Linked DNA regions of Homo sapiens: all the other regions are linked to region 4. Evidence: promoter capture Hi-C in human tissues and cell types (Jung and others, 2019). All regions are on one chromosome and are shown on one strand. Each heading gives the region's core, a stretch centred on a gene start or on the middle of the fragment in contact. The rest is flanking DNA. Distances are from core to core; before and after follow the strand shown.

What was found. The method cuts DNA at HindIII sites, captures the fragments that hold promoters and counts their contacts. A contact is called where the count stands out against the background at its distance.
Region 1: a contact is called between a fragment that was not itself captured here and the fragment with the promoter of MAP1LC3A in region 4, in 5 of the 25 tissues and cell types used here (IMR-90 fibroblasts, dorsolateral prefrontal cortex, lymphoblastoid cells and 2 more).
Region 2: a contact is called between a fragment that was not itself captured here and the fragment with the promoter of MAP1LC3A in region 4, in 6 of the 25 tissues and cell types used here (dorsolateral prefrontal cortex, heart left ventricle, hippocampus and 3 more).
Region 3: a contact is called between a fragment that was not itself captured here and the fragment with the promoter of MAP1LC3A in region 4, in 5 of the 25 tissues and cell types used here (bladder, dorsolateral prefrontal cortex, lymphoblastoid cells and 2 more).
Region 5: a contact is called between a fragment that was not itself captured here and the fragment with the promoter of MAP1LC3A in region 4, in 1 of the 25 tissues and cell types used here (spleen).

The regions. Positions count from the first base shown.
Region 1 is chr20:34,173,154-34,176,935 of GRCh38, forward strand. No RefSeq gene overlaps it. Among named protein-coding and RNA genes, the nearest start is that of EIF2S2, 63 kb to the left of the region's middle. The HindIII fragment of the contact is 6,088 bases long and covers 1-3,782 here.
Region 2 is chr20:34,211,293-34,215,140 of GRCh38, forward strand. It overlaps a transcript of ASIP not described here and the pseudogene XPOTP1. Among named protein-coding and RNA genes, the nearest start is that of ASIP, 28 kb to the right of the region's middle. The HindIII fragment of the contact is 4,701 bases long and covers 1-3,848 here.
Region 3 is chr20:34,264,112-34,267,722 of GRCh38, forward strand. The region is part of intron 3 of ASIP (agouti signaling protein); the gene reads left to right. It also overlaps a transcript of AHCY not described here. Among named protein-coding and RNA genes, the nearest start is that of ASIP, 24 kb to the left of the region's middle. The HindIII fragment of the contact is 9,736 bases long and covers 1-3,611 here.
Region 4 is chr20:34,556,786-34,560,290 of GRCh38, forward strand. MAP1LC3A (microtubule associated protein 1 light chain 3 alpha) reads left to right here and starts at 1,933. Exons shown (of 4, transcript NM_032514.4): 1 at 1,933-2,123; 2 at 2,423-2,478; 3 at 2,562-2,668; 4 at 2,951-3,505. The coding sequence starts at 2,084. The coding sequence ends at 3,113. RefSeq lists silencers at 1,635-1,724, 2,065-2,114. The HindIII fragment of the contact is 19,125 bases long and covers 1-3,505 here.
Region 5 is chr20:34,859,514-34,863,429 of GRCh38, forward strand. GGT7 (gamma-glutamyltransferase 7) reads right to left here. Exons shown (of 15, transcript NM_178026.3): 2 at 3,800-3,916; 3 at 3,301-3,452; 4 at 1,932-2,049; 5 at 741-808; 6 at 456-529; 7 at 1-126. Among named protein-coding and RNA genes, the nearest start is that of GGT7, 11 kb to the right of the region's middle. RefSeq lists an enhancer at 3,520-3,916. The HindIII fragment of the contact is 5,237 bases long and covers 1-3,916 here.

The sequences.
Region 1 (3,782 bases), core at 172-2,671, 380 kb before region 4:
ACTTTTTTGATTTACAGTTTTTGTTGTTTGAAGATGCCTTGGCTTGTCCTCCCTCCTAAGATTTGCTGGAATCTGACTACTTTGGGGTAGTCTTGGAGCTTCTGCTATTAAACCCTTTTCTTAAAATGTGCTAGGGCTGCCTAGTTGCTCTTCTATGTAAAGAAAAACGTCTCTGAAAGAGTGTGTTGATTTGAAAAGTATATTCATCATATTCCAGGAACAGCTTACATTTTCCCACACTTTCATCCTTAAATAAAAAGTTGGCTGGGTGCAGTGGCTCATTGCCTGTAATCCCAGCACTTTGGGAGGCCGAGGCAGGCGGATCACGAGGTCAGGAGATCGAGACCATCCTGGCTAACACGGTGAAACCCCGTCTCTACTAAAAATACAAAAAATTAGCCAGACATGGTGGCAGGCGCCTGTAGTCCCAGCTACTTGGGAGGCTGAGGCAGGAGAATCGCGTGAAACCGGGAGGCGGAGCTTGCAGTGAGCCCAGATCGTGCCACTGCACTCCAGCCTGGGAGACTTTGAGACTCCATCTCAAAAAAAAAAGTTACAAATTAAGGCATCATACACTCATAATTGTCAATAGAATCTATCCCTGGCGAGTTATCAAAAATATGGGCTTAGCAGTAACGTCTTAATCACAAATAACTTTTCAAATGTACAAAGAAAATCTTTTTTCTCTGACTCATACAGTGAGATACAAAAATCAAATTGGTCCCTTAAGATAGGATTAGAGTTGATAAGATCATCACCCTTAGAATTAGGAGGTAAACGTTTTAGACCTGGAACAAAGTTAGCACCTAGTCGTGCAAATAAAGAAAGGACTCTAGAGTAGAGAGAACAATCCAGGGACTTCCTGGGTCATTTATTTATGAATTGACTTTTGACCCTTCTCATCATAGGCTGTGACCTATTCTTAAAGTTTGATCTTTTTTCAGTCCTTTTACAGCATGGCAGTATTTCCTTAAGATCTACCAAGAATCCTAGCGAGACTTAATTCTGTTAGCCTAACAATATGAGAAATTCAGAAAGTTAAGCGTACTTACTTCCTGGACTTTTACCCCTGTTTCCTATTCTCTAGTCCCCCTCCTGAAATTAGTGCTGATCAGAACAGAAGTTTGAAGAAACTACCTGAGGCTGGAGAAAGTAGCACCAGAAAAGAGCAGAAGGAACAATCCTCAGAGTACCAGCCCCAACAAGATAAAATTCACTATGTCTGACATTCAAAAAAAGTTATCAGGCCTGCAAAGAAACAGGAAAATGTGATCCATAATGAGGAGAAAAATCAAATCAATAAAACAGATCAAGAATTATACAGAAGATAGAATTGGTAGACAGAGACATTAAAACAGTTCTTATAACTGTATTCCACATGTTCAAGAAGCTAGAGGAAAGATTGAAAATGATAAGTAGAGTCATGGAAGTTATTTTAAAAGATCTAAGTCTAACTTCTAGAGATGAAAAATATGGTATTTGATATGAAAAATACAATGGATAAGATTAACAGCAAATTAAACATTGCCAAAGGAAAGACTAAATAACTTGAAGACATAGCTATAAAAACAATAAGAAATGAAACACATAGAGAAAAAAGACTTTAAAAAGAGCACATCAGCGAGCCTTGAGACAACATCAGGTGGCCTAATATATGTGTAATTAGAGACCCCAAAGGAGAAGGGAGGGTACAGAAAAAAAAGAAATAATGACCAAATAGTAATGAGCAGATAAAGACCCAAAATTTTTCAAATTTGATGAAAACTATAAACCCATAGACCCAAGAAGTTCAACAAACCCTACATGGGAAGCATGAAGAAAATGACACCAAGGAACTTTATAATCAATTTGCTTAAAGCTATTGTTAAAGAAAAAAATCTTCTTCATCTCCAGTGCCTTAGGTTAGGTCCTCTTCATTTCTTAGCTGAACTTTTACAATAATCTCCAACTAATTGCCCTGCCTCTAATATAATTCCCCACCAGTCTTTTCCTCTTCACCACTGTTAGAGAACTCTTCACTGACCATTGACTAAAATCCAGGCTCTTAGCACTGCAAGTAAAGCTTTGTTAGCATGGCATATGTGACCCTTTTCACTCTCTCCAATCTCGGCACCCTATCCTCCACATCTGTTCCCAGTCCTCTAACCACATGGTACAGTTCGTGGAAAGAGCTGTACTGCTCTGGCCTCTATGCCTTTACATATGCTATTGTCTGTCTGGAAATGTCCTTCTCTTCCTTGGTTTATTAATCTGTGGCCCCCACTAATCTCTAAGCTCCTGGAAGACGACAGACTGTCTCTTTTTCACTGCAGTGTTGGGCTGAAAAAGGAAATAGAGTGGAATTTGAGAAGGGGTGTGGAAGGCAGGAGGAGGGAAGGGAGAAAAGAACAATAGAAAAAACAAGACTGAAGAGCTTAGCCAAAGTGTTCTATTTCCACAAAGAAGGTAAATATAGAAGAGAGAAGGCCGGGCATGGTGGCTCATGCCTGTAATCCCAGCACTTTGGGAGGCCGAGGCAGGAGGATCACGAGGTCAAGAGATTGAGACCATGCTGGCCAACACGGTAAAACCCCGTCTCTATTAAACAATACAAAAATTAGCTGGGCATGGTGGCATGTGCCTGTAGTCCCAGCCACTTGGGAAGCTGAGGCAGGAGAATCACTTGAACCTGGGTGGCAGAGGTCAGAGGTTGCAGTGAGCCCAGATTGCGCCACTGCACTTCAGCCTGGCGACAGAGCGAGACTCCGTTTAAAAAAAAAAAAAAAAAAAAAGACAGAGAGAAAAGATGGGCAAAGAGGTGTAACGAAGAGGTCTAGTAGAAGGGTGGGGCTTGAACACAGGGAGTGACTCCTCTTTTAGTGAGTTGAAAGAAAGAAGTGGAGGAGATAGAGCTTAAGGGAATTTACTACTGGCAGTTTCGTTTCCTTCCTAAAGTAGGAGACAAGGTCATGTGCTGCAAAGAAGGCTTGAGGAGAATGGAAAAGGCTGTGACATAGAATAACCACTCACATTCAAAACAGTGTACTGTGATCCGCTGAAGACTTCAAATCAGAGCTGAAAACCAGGACAAAATATATCCTGTCCTCCTCCTAAACATACCCTACAATATCTCCTACTGGCTCTTCCTTCCCTTTTATAAAAAACCATCTGCCTAGACTCTCTAGACAGATCACTGCCTTTGATTCTGAGTATGGGGTTTTCTCTGGAGGGGAACCGGAAAATGTAGCAAAACAAGAGTAAAGGAGGAGGGCAAAATATGAAGAGTGCTCAAGAGTAGGTTATACACATTTTAGAAGTACAGCGAAGATCATTAAAATAGCCCAAAATCTGGTTTGAACCTAAAGGTTTCTAACAGGTACAGGGAATCAGATGTATTCTAATGTGTCAGTTGACAAATTTCTTGGCAATTTACCTTCAGAACAGTGGGAGAGATCTACAGCTAACATATTCAGTCATTCTTGGAGGGTAGAGGGATCTCTCTGCAGGGGTATTATTTTAAAATCAAAGCAAAATATCTAACAGAATAACAAGTATCTGTAATGAAAAAATCTCCATTTCAAAGCGTTGCTTGAAATGAAAGAGACATTTTATTAGATTATTTATCAGAGAGTGGTCTGAGGAACAACTGCATGATGGGGTTGAGGGTGAGGCCCAGGGGTTGGGTCTGGACAAAAATAGAGATTATTAACATTGCAGTTTCTTGAATCCCATGTCAGATTTACTAATTTAGAATCTCCAAATGGCAGGGTGGGGTACGGGAGAAGCCTAGAAATCTAAATATT
Region 2 (3,848 bases), core at 953-3,452, 350 kb before region 4:
CCTCAAATGATCCTCCCACTTCGGCCTCCCAAAGTGCCAGAATTATAGGCATGAGCCACCGTGCCCGGCCTCATTGCCATATATTTTAATTTTATATATACTTTAAATTCTACAAAATGTTGTTGTTATTGTTGTCAGTGCTGTTGTTTTATACAATTGGCATTTGTTAAGATTTACCCACTGTTGTTAACTTAATGTTGTTCTATATTTCTTCTTTCAGTTTTGTGCTTCCATTGAGATTACTTTCTTTCTGCCTGAAAAATACCATTTAGAATGTCTTTTAATATGGGTCTACGGGTGACAAATTTTTCTCAGGTATTATTTGTCTGAAATTGTCTTTATTTCCACCTTCATTTACGAAAAAATGTTTTTGCTGAATGTAGAATCCCAACTTAGTTATTTTCTTTCATTTTGAAGATATCATTCCATTGTTTTCTGAGTTATGTTGTTTCCTTTGAGAAATTAGCAGTCAGTCTTACTTTTTGATCTTTTGCAAGTAAACTGACTTTTTTCTTGTGCTACTCCTAAGATTTTTCTCTGGGTCGTTAGCTTTTTATAGATGTACAGTCACATGCCTAGGTGTACATTTATCCTGCTTGGGCTTTGTGGCATTTCTTGAATCTGTAACCAGATAAAGATATCAAGTATATAAAGCTTTGGTACATTCTCAGTAATTATCTTCTCAAATATTGCTTGTGTCCCATTTTCTCTCTCTTATCCTTCTAAGATTATAACTGCTTACTATGTCCTATATGATTTTACATTCTTTTCTGTATTTTTCATCATTTTGTAACTCCATGTTTTAGTCTGTGTATTTTCTTCTGAATTTTCTTTCATTTCACCAATTCTGCTTTAAGCTGAGTCTAATTTATTATTAAACTCACCTAATAGATTACTCTTTAAACTTTTATTTGTAAATAATTTCATAACGTAAAGAAAAGTTACAAGACTAGTAAGAAAAATTGCAACAACTCCCATACACCCAATCTCTGATTGTTAATACTTTGTCTCATTTGCTTTATTATTTTGTGCCTGTGTGTTCACTCTCTTTCTTCAAATGTGCACACACATTCATGCACACACACATTTTTTACACATAAAATTTGAGAGTAAATTTCATACATATACATTATGACCCTTTTCTACTAAATATTTCATTGTGAATTTCCAAAGAATAAGAATATTTTCTTAAGTAACCATGGTACAGTTATCACTCCTATAAACTTATTTAGTATATTTTAATATTGATGCAATACATTATCTACTGTCTATTTTACAATTTTAACAATTGACCCAATAATGTCTTATATAGTATTTATTTTCCTTCAGTACAATCTCCTTTAATCTGGAGCAGTTCCTCAGCCATTCTTTGTCTTTTATGACATTGACATTTTTGAGGAAAAAAAATTCTTCTTTTGTGTGATAGAATTATTTTAATTTTGAGTTTATCTGATGTTTTCCCACCTGCCCTTGTTAATTTTGATCACTCCATTGAGATATTTCCATTCTTTACCCTTATAACTAATAAGCAATCTGTAGGGGAAATACTTTAAGAATGTGCATATATCTTGCATCTATTGATGATTCTTACTTGAATCAATTCTTACTATGATGGTTGCAAAATTAAGATTTTCCAACTCCAGCACTGCTTTTGAGTGACTGTAGGACTTACCAGTCAGCACTTGACATACTACTATAAGCAAGAAGCCTCCTAGAATGTTTATCCCTCCAAAAGTCACTTTAAACTTAGTTGCCATTGTAACAGTATCAACAGGTGAGACTTCTAAGAGGTGATTAGGCCATGAGGACTCCACGCTTGTGAATAGACCTAATGCTGCTATCATTATTGCAAGGGTGGGTTCACCCTTCTTGCTCCTTCTCCTCCATCCTTTCTTTATCCTTCTGCCATGTGATGCCTTCTACCATGTTATGACACAGCAAAAAAGGCCCTCACCAGATGCCAGCCCTTCTATCTTGGACTTGCCAGCCTCCAGAACTGTGAACCAATAACTTTCTTTGCATTATAAATTACCCAGTCTGTGGTATGCTTTTATAGCAGCACAAAACAGTCTAAGACAGAAAGTTAATGCCAGAGAGTGGAGTGTTGCTATAACCAACACCTGAAAAATGTGAAAGTGGCTTTGGAATTGAGTCATAGGTAGAGACTGAGACAGTTTTGAAGTGAACACTGAAAAAGTCTGTCTCTAAAGCAGCAGACTGGTCATTTTCTTCTGCGGGCCAGAGTAGCACTTCAAAAATTGCATGAAGCAGGGGCATGAACATCTGTTGTAAAAACGGGGATACTTGTACCTTGAATTTGGCCGTAATCTGGTTGATAAGAGGAATGAACTCCTGGAGGTCTTTTGCTTCACAATCTTTGAGTATATGTTCTGAAGCAGATGGGATGAACGGAAAAACTTCTTCCTCCAGGCAAATAATCATTCGATGAAGGAAAGTACAGACTCCACTTCTGAGAATACCCTTTTGTAAGGGACAACTGAGGGCCAGCAAGAATGTCTGTAAACAGTCCAGATAAACTTCGGAACAGCCACACTGTTTCACAGTCTGCTTGTTGCTGAAAGCTTTACTAGTTCGACTTGCAAATCCAACAGCATGGTTGAGACAGTCTGCTAGAGAGGCTTGCCTTTCTTCATCTTGTGCCAGCATCAAATTTTCTAACAGAATTTTAAACTTCTCCATTAGTGGAGTCAACAGATTCCTCATTAAGGCTTCTTTCCTTTCTGCCGGGTATTCATTATTAACAATCATCACTCCAACTGTCTCATAAATAAAATTTGATCATCGCTGCTCAGGAAGGACTGGTGGCCATTCTCAGGTGGAGAAAGCTTTAATAAATCTTGTATTCTATTCAAAATATCCTCAATGAAAGGATTCATTTGCTTATTGAGAGATTTGACAAATCTAGAAAACAGGTAAGCCATCTTGCTCTGAACTTTTGCACTGGAATGACGCAGACCTCTGTGATCTAAGAAAGCCATTAGTACACATGGAACGTGCTGAGGTTCAACTGTGAAAAACTTTTCATATCTAACAACAGTTTCGAAGAACTCCAACGTCACAGATGTATGCTGATAGGAACTGACTCCTGATGTTACCAGAGTTCGCATCATACCCTGCAAAGCACTAGCTTTTGAAACATCACCTGAGAAGTGAGCACCATGAGATAGATACTGGAAGAGCTTCTGCCAACATATACAGCAATCTTATTGCTACTTCAACTTCCATGAACCGTGTAGTCTGCCAATTCTGCAGTGTAGAACTAAAAACTCTGCGAACAGAGGCCAGTAGTAACTCTCGTGAAACTTGAGCAAGCCTGTCCAACACTAACTTCAGTTGTTTTCTATATTCTACAAACATGGCTTTATCTTGACCCTCATTTTCAAAGTTATATTCTTCATCATAAGTCAATTTTTTCATAACGGCCAACATGATTGCCTCCACATTAGCTTTTTGCTGATCCGAGAGCACTGTAAGCTGTTTCAAAATATGAAGATAATCATAACAAAATCCAATATTAGAAGAAATATCATCATCCTCATGAATTAGTAGCTGCAACATCAGTGCCACTTTTGTTTCAATAGCTTGTAGTGCCTCTTGAGCATTCTTAATATTCCCATTCTTAGTTAATTTACTCCAACTAACTATCCATGACTGTCCCATTCCGTTTACCGGCTTAGAAAATCTGGCCAACATCTTCTTCCTGGTCAATGCTGAAAAGAAGTCAACATCTTCTTCCTGGTCAATGCTGAAAAAGCCAGCAGACTGTAATACTTGACACAAAGATTCTACTAGTTTCATTTTATCAACAGGGTCCATTCCTTTATTTA
Region 3 (3,611 bases), core at 1,099-3,598, 290 kb before region 4:
ACTTGCTATCATACAATATACATAAATCTATTATAAAAAATTAAAATTTCCCAAAACATATGTACACACAGACAGTACATACCATTCAAAATAGAAAGAAAATAACCAAATGTAAAGATGTAGTACTAAATCATAACTGTGTAAACAACTGCAGTACATACTGTACTACCATCATAATTGTGAAGATACCTCCTGTTGCCATTGCGGCATGCTCAGGTGTTGCGAGTACGTGCTTACAACGCTCTGTGAGCTAATCATCTCTGCACAAGGAGTCTCACCAGGAAATCACATATTGCAGTAAAATGTGATCCCTCAAGGTTCTCGTGTATTTTTCAATGTGTTTAATGCAATATTGTAAACCTTGAGTAGTACCAAGGGACCCATACTAGGTGCTACTAGTGATTCTGGAAGTGTTCCCAAGAAGCAAAGAAGAGTCATGACATTACAAGAAAAAGTTGCTTGAATTACTTGATTGATACTATAGGTTGAGGTCTGAAGCTTTGGTTGCTTACTATTTCAGACAGACAATACATCTTGTAAACAGATGAAGTAAACTTACGGTATCAATAAATACAGTACAGTACTGTAAATGTATTTTCACTTCCTTATATTTTCTTATAATCGATCTCTACTTATCCAATAATTTTCTTAATATTTTATTTTCCCTAGTTTACTTCATTTTTTTTTTTTTTTTTTTTTTTAGAAATGGGGTGTCACTCTGTCACTCAGGCTGGAGTGCAGTGGCACCATCTCGGCTCATTGCAGCCTCAACCTCCCAGGCTCAAGTGATCCTCCTGCCTCAGCCCCACAAGCAGCTAGGACTACGGGTGTGCACCACCATGCCTGGCAGATTTTTGTATTTTCAGTAGAGATGAGGTTTTGCGGTGTTGCCCGGGCTGGTCTCAAACTCCTGAGTTCAGGCAATCCGCTGCTTCTGTCTCCTAAACTGCTGGGATTACCTGCATTAGCCACCATGCCCAGCCAGTTTACTTGATTATAAGAGTACAGTATATAATACATATAACATAAAAAGATGTTAATCCACAGTTTATGTTATCAGTAAGGCTTCCTTCTGGCCAACAGTAGGCTATTAGTAGTTAAGTTTTTGAGGAGTCAAAAATAATATGAGGGCCAGGCACGGTGGCTCACACCTATAATCCCAGCACTTTGGGAGGTTGAGGTTGGCAGATCACTTGAGTCCAGGAATTCAAGACCAGCCTGAGCAACATGATGAAACCTCATCTCTACAAAAAATTTAAAAAATTAACTGGGTGTGGTGGTGTGCTCCTGTAGTCCCAGATACTCAGGAGGCTGAAGTAGGAGAATCGCTTGAGCCTGGGATATCGAGGCTACAGTGACTTGTGATCATACCACTGCACTCCAGCCTGGGCAACAGAATAAGACCCTGTCTCAAAGAAAAAAAGGATTTTTGACTGTGTGTAAAGAGTTTGTGCCCCTAACCCCTGCATTGTTCAAGGGTCAACTGTATATAATTATGATAGAAAACTAGTATCACTTACCATAAATAGAAGGTAACTATAAAAATAAGTAAAGTTGGCCGGGCACAGTGGCTCACACCTGTAATCCCAGCACTTTGGGAGGCCAAGGAGGGTGGATCACCTTAGGTCAGGAATTTAAGACCAGTCTGACCAACATGGTGAAACCCCATCTCTACTAAAAATACAAAAATTAGCTGGGTATGGTGCTGCACGCCTGTAATCCCAGCTACTCAGGAGACTGAGGCAGGAGAATCACTTGAACCTGGAAGGCAGAGGTTGCAGTGAGCCAAGATCACACCACTGCACCCTAGCCTGGGCGACAGAGCAAGACTGTCTCAAAAAAAAACAAAAGCGGAGGGGGGGAAGTTAAAACATTGTTAGTAAATTCTGGGTGAATGGATGGTATTGCCTACCAAAGGCTCTAAATTTGAGGCCTAAATCTCTGTGTTAAAAGGCATAATGGCCAGGCACGGTGGCTCACGCCTATAATCCCAGCACTTTGGGAGGCTGAGGTGGGTGGACCACAAGGTCAGGAGATCAAGACCATCCTGGCTAACACGGAGAAACCCCGTCTCTACTAAAAATACAAAAATTAGCCGGAGGTGGTGGCGGGCGCCTGTAGTCCCAGCTACTTGGGAGGCTGAGGCAGGAGAATGGCGTGAACCCGGGAGGCAGAGTACAGTGAGCCGAGACCGTGCCACTACACTCCAGCCTGGGTGACAGAGCGAGACTCCGTCTCAAAAATAATATAAAATAAAACAAAAAATAAAAGGCAGATTAGGCCAGGCACGGTGGCTCATAACTGTAATCCCAGCACTTCAGGAGGCTGAGGCAGGCAGATCACCTGAGGTTAAGAGTTAGAGACCAGCCTAGCCAACATGGTGAAACCCCGTCTCTACTAAAAATACAAAAATTAGCTGGGCGTGGTGGTGCACGCCTGTAATCCCAGCTACCTGGGAGACTGAGGCAGGAGAATCACTGGAACCCGGGAGATGAAGGTTGCAGTGAGCCGAGATGGCACCACTACACTCCAGCCTGGGTGACACAGCAAGACTCCATCTCAAAAACAAACAAACAAACAAACAAAAAAGGCAGATTATAAAGTGTTAGAAAGGCACTAAGGACACGTTAGCACCAAACTGACCCTTTCAAGTTGAAAAAGATTGAAAAAAGAATCCTTTTTTATTGTATAATTCAGGATCATTTAACATTCACGTACCACCTAAAATCATACCACCATTAACACAGGTTCCCACTTTGGGAAATACTGGACTGAGGCATTGCTGAAATGCACACCTTATTCCTGTCTTAGTGTGCCTCAGTTTATCATATCAACTGTAACCAAAGCAAGGAGCACTGGATTAGGTATTAGGAGGTAGGATCTGGCACTGTGTGATCTTGAAAGTCCCTGCTCTTTTCTAGGCCTATTTTGTTGGCTGTAAAGTGAACAAGCAAGATGAGATTATTGACAGATAAAAATATATAACTGACAAATATATTTATATGCTAAGCACTGGGAACATAGCAGTGAATAAGAAAGATATATCTTATCCTTGGTCTCATGGAGTTTACATTCTTGTGGAGAAAACAGGTGAACAGCAAGTAAATCAATAAATAGGTAAATAAATTCAGATGTTAAAGAGTGCAAAGAAATTACAGCACGGTAATGAGACTGAAGGGAAGAGTGGTCTGGGAAGGCCTCTGTAAGGAAGTAGCATTTAAATAGAGTGAAAAACTCAGTAACCTAGAGCAGCAGCGTCCAATAGAAATACAATGTGAGGCCAGGCGCGGTGGCTCACATCTGTAATCTCAGCACTTTGGGAGGGCGACAAGAGTGAAACTGGCTCTCAAAAAAAAAAAAAAAAAAAAAAAAGAACTGTGATGTGAGCTACATAATTTTAAATTTGCTTATGGCCACTTTATTTATTTATTTTTTTTGAGACAGAGTTTTGCTCTTGTTGCCCAGGCTGGAGTGCAATGGCGCAATCTCCACTCACAGCAACCTCCACCTCCCCGGTTCAAACAATTCTCCTGCCTCAGCCTCCCGGGAGTAGCTGGGATTACAGATGTGCCACCATGCTGGGCTAATTTTTGTATTTTTAGTAGAGACGG
Region 4 (3,505 bases), core at 683-3,182:
AGACAGAGTTTTGCCATGTTGGCCAGGCTGGTCTTGAATTCCCAGCCTCTAGTGATCCACCCACCTCGGCCTCCCAAAGTGCTGGGATTACTGGCATGAGCCACTGCGCCTGGCCTATTTTCAGCCTTAAAAACAAAAACCCTGGAACATAGAAGTTCAGAACTTTCCTCTCTTCACAGAGTTCCTCCTCGCATCATTTCATGTTGATCCTCTTATCCCCAGTGTCTTCTGCCTGAAGGCCTATTTTGTCTGAGTTTTCTATAGGTACATCTTTTGGTTAGTTTTTCTCTAGTACACCTTTTCCCATCGTTTTACTTTTTGGTGCCCTTAGGTTTTAAATTTCCTCTTGTAAATAGCATAGAGCTGCATCTTATTTTTTCTTGGCCAATCTGGTCATCTGTGTTTTAAGAGGTGAATGTAAACCACATTTTCTACCTCTGGTTTTGTACTATATATTTACCATCCCTTTTACTTTGCTTCCTTTTTCTCCCTTTCTGCCTTCCATTATAGTTTTAATACCCATCACTACCCTTTTCTCTGCATTGGCAGTTATAGTTCCGTTTGTATTCTTTTGGTGATCCTCTTAAATATCTGAAATACACACCTGACTTTACAAAGCCAGACAATGCTCAGTCTCTTTAACCCCCTCTCAAATTGCCCTCTCAGTCTTCCATGTTCTTGTGTCTCATGCATCTTGTTTCTGTGGCCCACAAATTAATCATTATTATTCATATTGCATATTAAATGCTTGTTTAGATTCACATGTTTACCAATTTGCTCACCATTTTTCCATCTAATTTCTTCCTTTTGGGTTCCATGTCCTTGTTACTAAACTACATTCTTTAAAAATTATTTCGGCGGCCAGGCGTGGTGGCTCACACCTGTAATCCCAGCACTTTGGGAGGCCGAGGCGAGTGGATCACGAGGTCAGGAGATCGAGACCATCCTGGCCAACATGGTGAAACTCCATCTCTACTAAAAATACAATAATTAGCTGGGGGTGGTGGCAGGCGCCTGTAATCCCAGCTACTGAGGAGGCTGACTGAGGCAGGAGAATCGCTTGAACCCGGGAGGCAGAGGTTGCAGTGAGCTGAGATCGCACCACTGCACCCCAGCCTGGCGACAGAACGAGACTTCGTCCCCCTCCCCCCTCCCCCAAAAAAATGTTGATCTTCAGTCTGCGCATTCTGCTCTGGATTTTAAGCATCATTTCTGGCAGCTCTTTTTCAGGAACTGTCTCTGCAGGTCTTTCAGTGTTCGCCTCTGGAGCTCTGCTCGGGCCCGCGAGTTCTCCTGGCGTTGCCATCTGTGCCCTTTTCCTTATTCCCCATCACCTGTCTCTCTGGTGAGCTGCTTCCGATCAGCCTCCAGGTCCACGATTTCTCTTCTGTTGTCCTTTTCTGCCTTCTCACCTCATCCTCTGAGACCTGAATTTCGATGGCTCTACTTTTCAATTATATTATTCTTTTTCAAACCTGGGCGTTCATTTCTAGCATCCTGTTCTATCCTGTGTCTGACTGTGCCTCCCGCACCTTCTCCCTTCTCTCGCCCTAAGCCCCGTGAAGGCGCCGGGCCTTTGGCTCCGGCTGTTTCCCACGGCGCCCAGAACCGCGTCAGTCCTGACACAGACTCGGTGAGGGCGGGAAGTGGTGCCGTGGGGCTGCAGCCTGGCCCGCCCGCTCCATCGGCCTAGGGCGGCCCCACCGCCCTCCGGGCCTTACCTTGAGTTCGGGCTGCGGGAGAAGCTCCCGCGCTGCCCATGACGTCACGGGACTGTGACGCGCCCAGAAGCCCCGCCCCTCGCGTCCCGGTCCGCGGACCCAGGCTCTCTGCGCCGTGACGTCACGGGTCCGGGCGGGCGGGTTGTGCGTCGGCCCAATGGGAGCGGCGCACTGGCCTCCCCTTTAAGGAATGTTGTGACCTGACGTCACCGGGCGAGTTACCTCCCGCAGCCGCAGCCGCCGTGCTCAGCGCGAGCCCCGGAGCCCTTGAGCGCGAGGCGCGGAGCCCCCGGAGCCCCCAAACCGCAGACACATCCCCGCGCCCCAGAGCCCCGGCCTGCGCGCCCAGCCGGGCCCGCGCGATGCCCTCAGACCGGCCTTTCAAGCAGCGGCGGAGCTTCGGTGAGGCCCGGCAGGCGAGCTGCGAGCTCTGGGGCAGGGGTGCCGGCCGACCCCGACTGCCGCAGGTGACGTCAGCCCCGTGACGTCAGGCTCTGGCTGGACCCTCGGGCTGGGACCAGCTCCGGCCTGGGCGGGGGCTGCCCGCTTCCCCACCGCGATAGGTGCCAGGGGCTGTGGGGCCTGATGGCCCCGGGGGTGGGGGCTGGAGCTGGGGCGTGGCCGGGGGCCGCCCCTCCGGGACAGGCGGGGCGGACCTGGGCCGGCCCGACCCGGCCTCACGGTCTGGCCGCTGTCCGCAGCCGACCGCTGTAAGGAGGTACAGCAGATCCGCGACCAGCACCCCAGCAAAATCCCGGTGAGTCCCGCACCCCCAGCCCTGCCCCGCCCCCGCCTCGCGCGTTCCCGACACGACCCCCTGCCCGCCCGCCCTGCTCCCAGGTGATCATCGAGCGCTACAAGGGTGAGAAGCAGCTGCCCGTCCTGGACAAGACCAAGTTTTTGGTCCCGGACCATGTCAACATGAGCGAGTTGGTCAAGATCATCCGGTGCGTGGGCAGCCGCCGCCAGGAGGTGGCTAGGGTCGGGAGGGGAGCCGGGTTCCCGCCGAGAAGGGGTGGGAGTGGGGTCAGGGGTGATGGGACCGGGCGGTGGGCCCCTGTTCTGGGGTGGCTGGAAAGGTCAAGGTCGGGGCTGCAGTCGGTGTTGGGTCAGAGGTGACAGCTGGGGTGAGAATGGGTGTGAAAGGCTGGGAATCATTCTGGGGGTCAGGGCTATGTCCGTCCCGCAGCCAAGCCCCTCACAGCTGCATACTCTCCCGCCGGCTGCAGGCGCCGCCTGCAGCTGAACCCCACGCAGGCCTTCTTCCTGCTGGTGAACCAGCACAGCATGGTGAGTGTGTCCACGCCCATCGCGGACATCTACGAGCAGGAGAAAGACGAGGACGGCTTCCTCTATATGGTCTACGCCTCCCAGGAAACCTTCGGCTTCTGAGCCAGCAGTAGGGGGGCTCGGCCTGGGAGTCGGGCGGCCCCGGTCAGGCCCTGCCCAGAGAGCTCCTGGTTCCTGAACTGAGCTGCCTCTACCGTGGTGGGCTGGGCAGGCATGTGCCCCCCTAGTCAGAGGGCACCAACCCACCTACTCTGCCCCTGGGTGGATCCTGGGCCGGTCGTGTTAGGGTTGTCCCTCTGGGTGCTGGCTGGTGGGATGGGGGAGGGTGGGGAGCAGCTCCCAGCACCCCTGCTGTGTGGTTCATCTTTTTTTTAGGCCCCTGCCTGTCTGCCCATCTGCCCCTCACCCACCCGAGGCTCTGCCCACCGCCTGGACCTGCCCACCCCTGAAAGACTGGCCCCTGGCTCCCCGCCCCTCGGTCTCCACGTGGTGTA
Region 5 (3,916 bases), core at 307-2,806, 300 kb after region 4:
CCAGCACCTCAGCCAGGTCGGGCCGATGCAGCAACGAGCCAGGTAGTGGCGGGCGGCCCGATGGCAGGAACGTCTCCCGGAAGCGCTCGGACATGTTGGGTGGCAGCTGTTCAGCCAGGGCACGGGCTAGGGGCAGGGACGGGAGGCTGGGCAGGGCGGGACGCCAGGACTGGACCGGATGAGACGCGCAATAGATGGGGTAGATGGGGGCTGAGTGGCCCACCCTAAGTGCCCTGACCCCCAGGAGCCTGTTAAGTGCGAGGCAGGGATGTCTAAGGGCCCTTCCCAGACCCCCTCGTTTGAGGCCGCCTCCAGGTGAGGGTGGGATAAGGTGGGGAGGGGGTCTGAGGAGCAAACTGGAAGAGAGGGCCTCTCTGGCTTGGGCTCCAAATCTCAAAGATTCTACCCTTCTCCATCAACCTCATGTCTCTCCCAAATCCCCAGGCCCCACTGACCTAGATCATGAGTCACGTTGAAGCCATCTTGGGCCACAGCTGCTGCAAAGGCCAGGACTTGGGACCATGGCAGCCTGGGGGGGCCGGAGAGCAGGGGGTGGAGGAGGTCCTGGGGGAATGAGGAGGGGTCCGGGGGGAGGGGGGTTCCTGGGAAGGAGAGTCCTGGCAAGGGAAGGGGATATTAGGAGGGGGAGTTGGGAAAGGAAGAATCCAGGGAAGTAGGAGAAGGCCACCCAAGGAGAGATGCAAACGGGGGTCCCTGGTCCCCAGGGGGAGGGTTGTTACCTGCCATAGAGCTGGTGAGCTTCATGTAGCCCCTTCACCATTCCGGGAACCCCCACCAAGAGCCCAGGCTGGGCAAGGCGGGTAGGCGAGGGAGAGAGGAGACCAGGTCACTGGAAGGGGGGTGCTGGGCTGAACTCCGCAGAGCCCCAAGCCAGGGATGGCTGGCACAGGGGAGAGACACAGGCCAAGTATCCCAGGGGAGGGACAAGCTTTCCCAAGCAGGCACCCCTCCCATCTCCCTGACTTCCTATCAGCAAATGCAGAAAGGCCTCTTTTAGCTGCCGTAGTTGGGGGATTTATAAATTAAGCAAAACTCTTTTAAGAGCCAGGACATAACCAGTGTAGAAAGACACCTGTCTACATTGGATTTCACCAACCCCTGCCTTTTTTTTTTTTTTTTTTTTTTTTTCCTGTTACCCAGGCTGGAGTACAGTGGCATAGTCATAGCTCACTGTGGCCTCCAACTCCTGGGCTCAAGTCAAGCGATCCTTGGTGCATGCTACTGTGCCTGGCTAATTTCAAAGCATTTTTTGTAGAGACAAAGTCTCACTATGTCACTCAGGCTGGTCTCAAACTCCTGGCCTCAAGCAATCCTCCTGCCTTGGCTTCCCAGAGTGTTGGGATTACAGGTGTGAGCCACTGTGCCCAGGCAACCCTACCTTTTAAAACGGTGGACAAAGGACCTTCATTTAACCTATTCAGTTTCACCCCACCATTACTCTGAGCTCTGAAGACTCAGGGGTGTGTTTGGCTTTTGCCACCGCACTAAGTACCCATTTTTCCAAGTTATTCGATATCTTCTTTTTCTTTCAGCAGACAGTTGGTTTACTTCTGGCAATTCCCCTCTAATCTTCCAATATATCAAGGGCTGGGAAAGTTATAGTCAACTGGCTCAGAGTGAGATGTGTGAGTTTCATTGCATCAACTTCGTGACATTTCAGGGTACTCAGTAGCCTTTTTTCTTCCTTCCCACGTGCCAGATAGGTAAGATTCCCAGAGAAGTAAGGTTCCAGATTTTCTAGTTCATTATTTTATCTTGGGGGCTGCCTGACTCTCTCATAGCCTAAGAGAATCCTGCTCAACTCTTTTTCCCACTCCCCTGGTAAATACTTAGCAAATTAATGCTTGGGTTAGCAGAAGGGCAATGAAGAGAGACTCCCCTGAACTCTCTCTTCTCACCAGGGTCCCCACCTTGGTCTCCCAGGATCTTTGCAGGGTCTCTTCCCTGAGGGCCCCTGGTGCGGACTCCCGGAAATCAATTAGGTGGCTCTCATTTCGTCGGATGTCATGTACCAGCATCACGCCCCCACTGGGAGAGACACAGAAGGGGAAGTGTGATGATAACATGCTACCCCTCTGTACAATGAATCTGCTGCCCCTCCACCCCCAGTGGTGAGAGCTGTAGGCTCAGTTTTTCATTTGGGGTCAGGTGTCTGAGCTCCCTCCCCAGCATGGATTCACAGACTCAGCCACCCTAAGAGGATGGGAGCAAAACCAAGAGGGTTGGAGACCCAGGGTCCATGGACCTCTTCTATCCTGTCACTGGAGACTTTAATCCCTGATTAGGAAAAGCCCAGAGACTGGCAGAACAGGATGTTCTGCCCCATGCCCCCACCCTGGACCAGAGCTGGACCCCTGCCAGCTTCCTGCACCTGTCTACTTGGTATGTCCCTTGCCCCTCCCCCAGGACTGGATTATGTAAGGATAGAACATGCAAAACCAAAAGAGGAATTTCTTTGGTACGGCTTGGAGAGCTGGTCTTACAGGAGCCAAGATAGGAACTTTGTCAGCTTGTTCCTTTTCTGTAGCTTATTTACGTCTAAGATGGGGGCTGCAAACTTAAATGCCCACAGCCAAATGACAAACTAAGGCAAGCAGGACAGAGAAGAGGAAGTGGTAGAAACTACGGCAAACTGGACAGTGCATGCCCATCATGGGAAGCAGCTTCTATTCCACGCCAGGTAACTTCAGCCATGTGAGAATGCGGGCCCAAGTTGTTATCGGATTTCCCGATTGTTCAAGAGATGTTGGAAATCTGGATTTTTATGAAAATTCTCAACTTTTTAACAAAAGCAAACAAAATTTTAAGACAGTTCAGTGTCTAAACCAAACCAGTCTGTGTGCTGGGTGTTGCCCATGGGTGGCCAGCTTGTAACTTCTAAGAGTTCTTAGTGCAGGGTGTATTTTTGGAGGACAGAGGGTGCAAGGCTTTTCATCAGACCCATAGGGATTTATGATCCTAGAAGTTGAAATATCTCTGCCTTAATTGATGACAGTATACCTCCACCTGTGCATCTTAATTTATGGTTTACAAATTTCTTTTTCTAGTTAAAAAAAAAAAAAAAAAGCTTCTGAAAACACTTTCAGGTTTTCCATAAGGTAGCTTTGCTCTTCTGACTCCATCCAGGGAGAAGGGGGTGAAATTTGGTGTAGAAAGAGAAAATGCAAGGAGTTGGGGCCCAAAAGCCCCTCTCCCTAAGTTAGGAGTGCTGCACATGAGGCCTACAGACCTGGAGGCAAGAAGTAGGCCTGGGGGACCCCGACCTCCACTGCTCCTTACCCGCCCAGGCCAGAACTGTGTGGAGCCACGATACCCAAACACAAGGCTGCTGCCACCGCTGCGTCCACAGAAGATCCCTGTTTACTGAGCACCTCGATGCCCAGTGAAGTGCAGCGGGCAGCATCGGTCACCACGGCACCCTGCTGGAAGATCTGGGAGGGGAAAGAGGACTTGGTGGGGGCAGGAGGAGCTGTCCACCTCCCTAGGGCACCTCCACTAGCCCTAGAACTCTACGCGGCATGAAGGTCGAAGCCCTGCCCCCTTGTTGCCTTGACTCTGCCCTCATTACCCCAAGTGCCTCCTAATGGATCTGTCCTTATTCTTCCTTGTTCTGTCTCCCTCATGCCCTGGAGCTCCTCTCTTTGGGACCTTCCTCTCCCAAGTCACCACCCTCTCTCCCCTTCTACCACTCAGCCATTCCCCAGTTTCCACAGTTCCTCAAACATTACCCCACTCCCCACTCCCCAGTTTCCTCCCCCTCCCCATTTGTCCCCCTCACCTGGGGGTCCCCGAAGTAGATCTGCATGACCAGCGCCACGGTGACACCGGTAGCGAAGGTGAGACAGGCCGTGACGATGACCGTGAGCCCATCCTGGCGGCAGGAGCACTCGGCCGC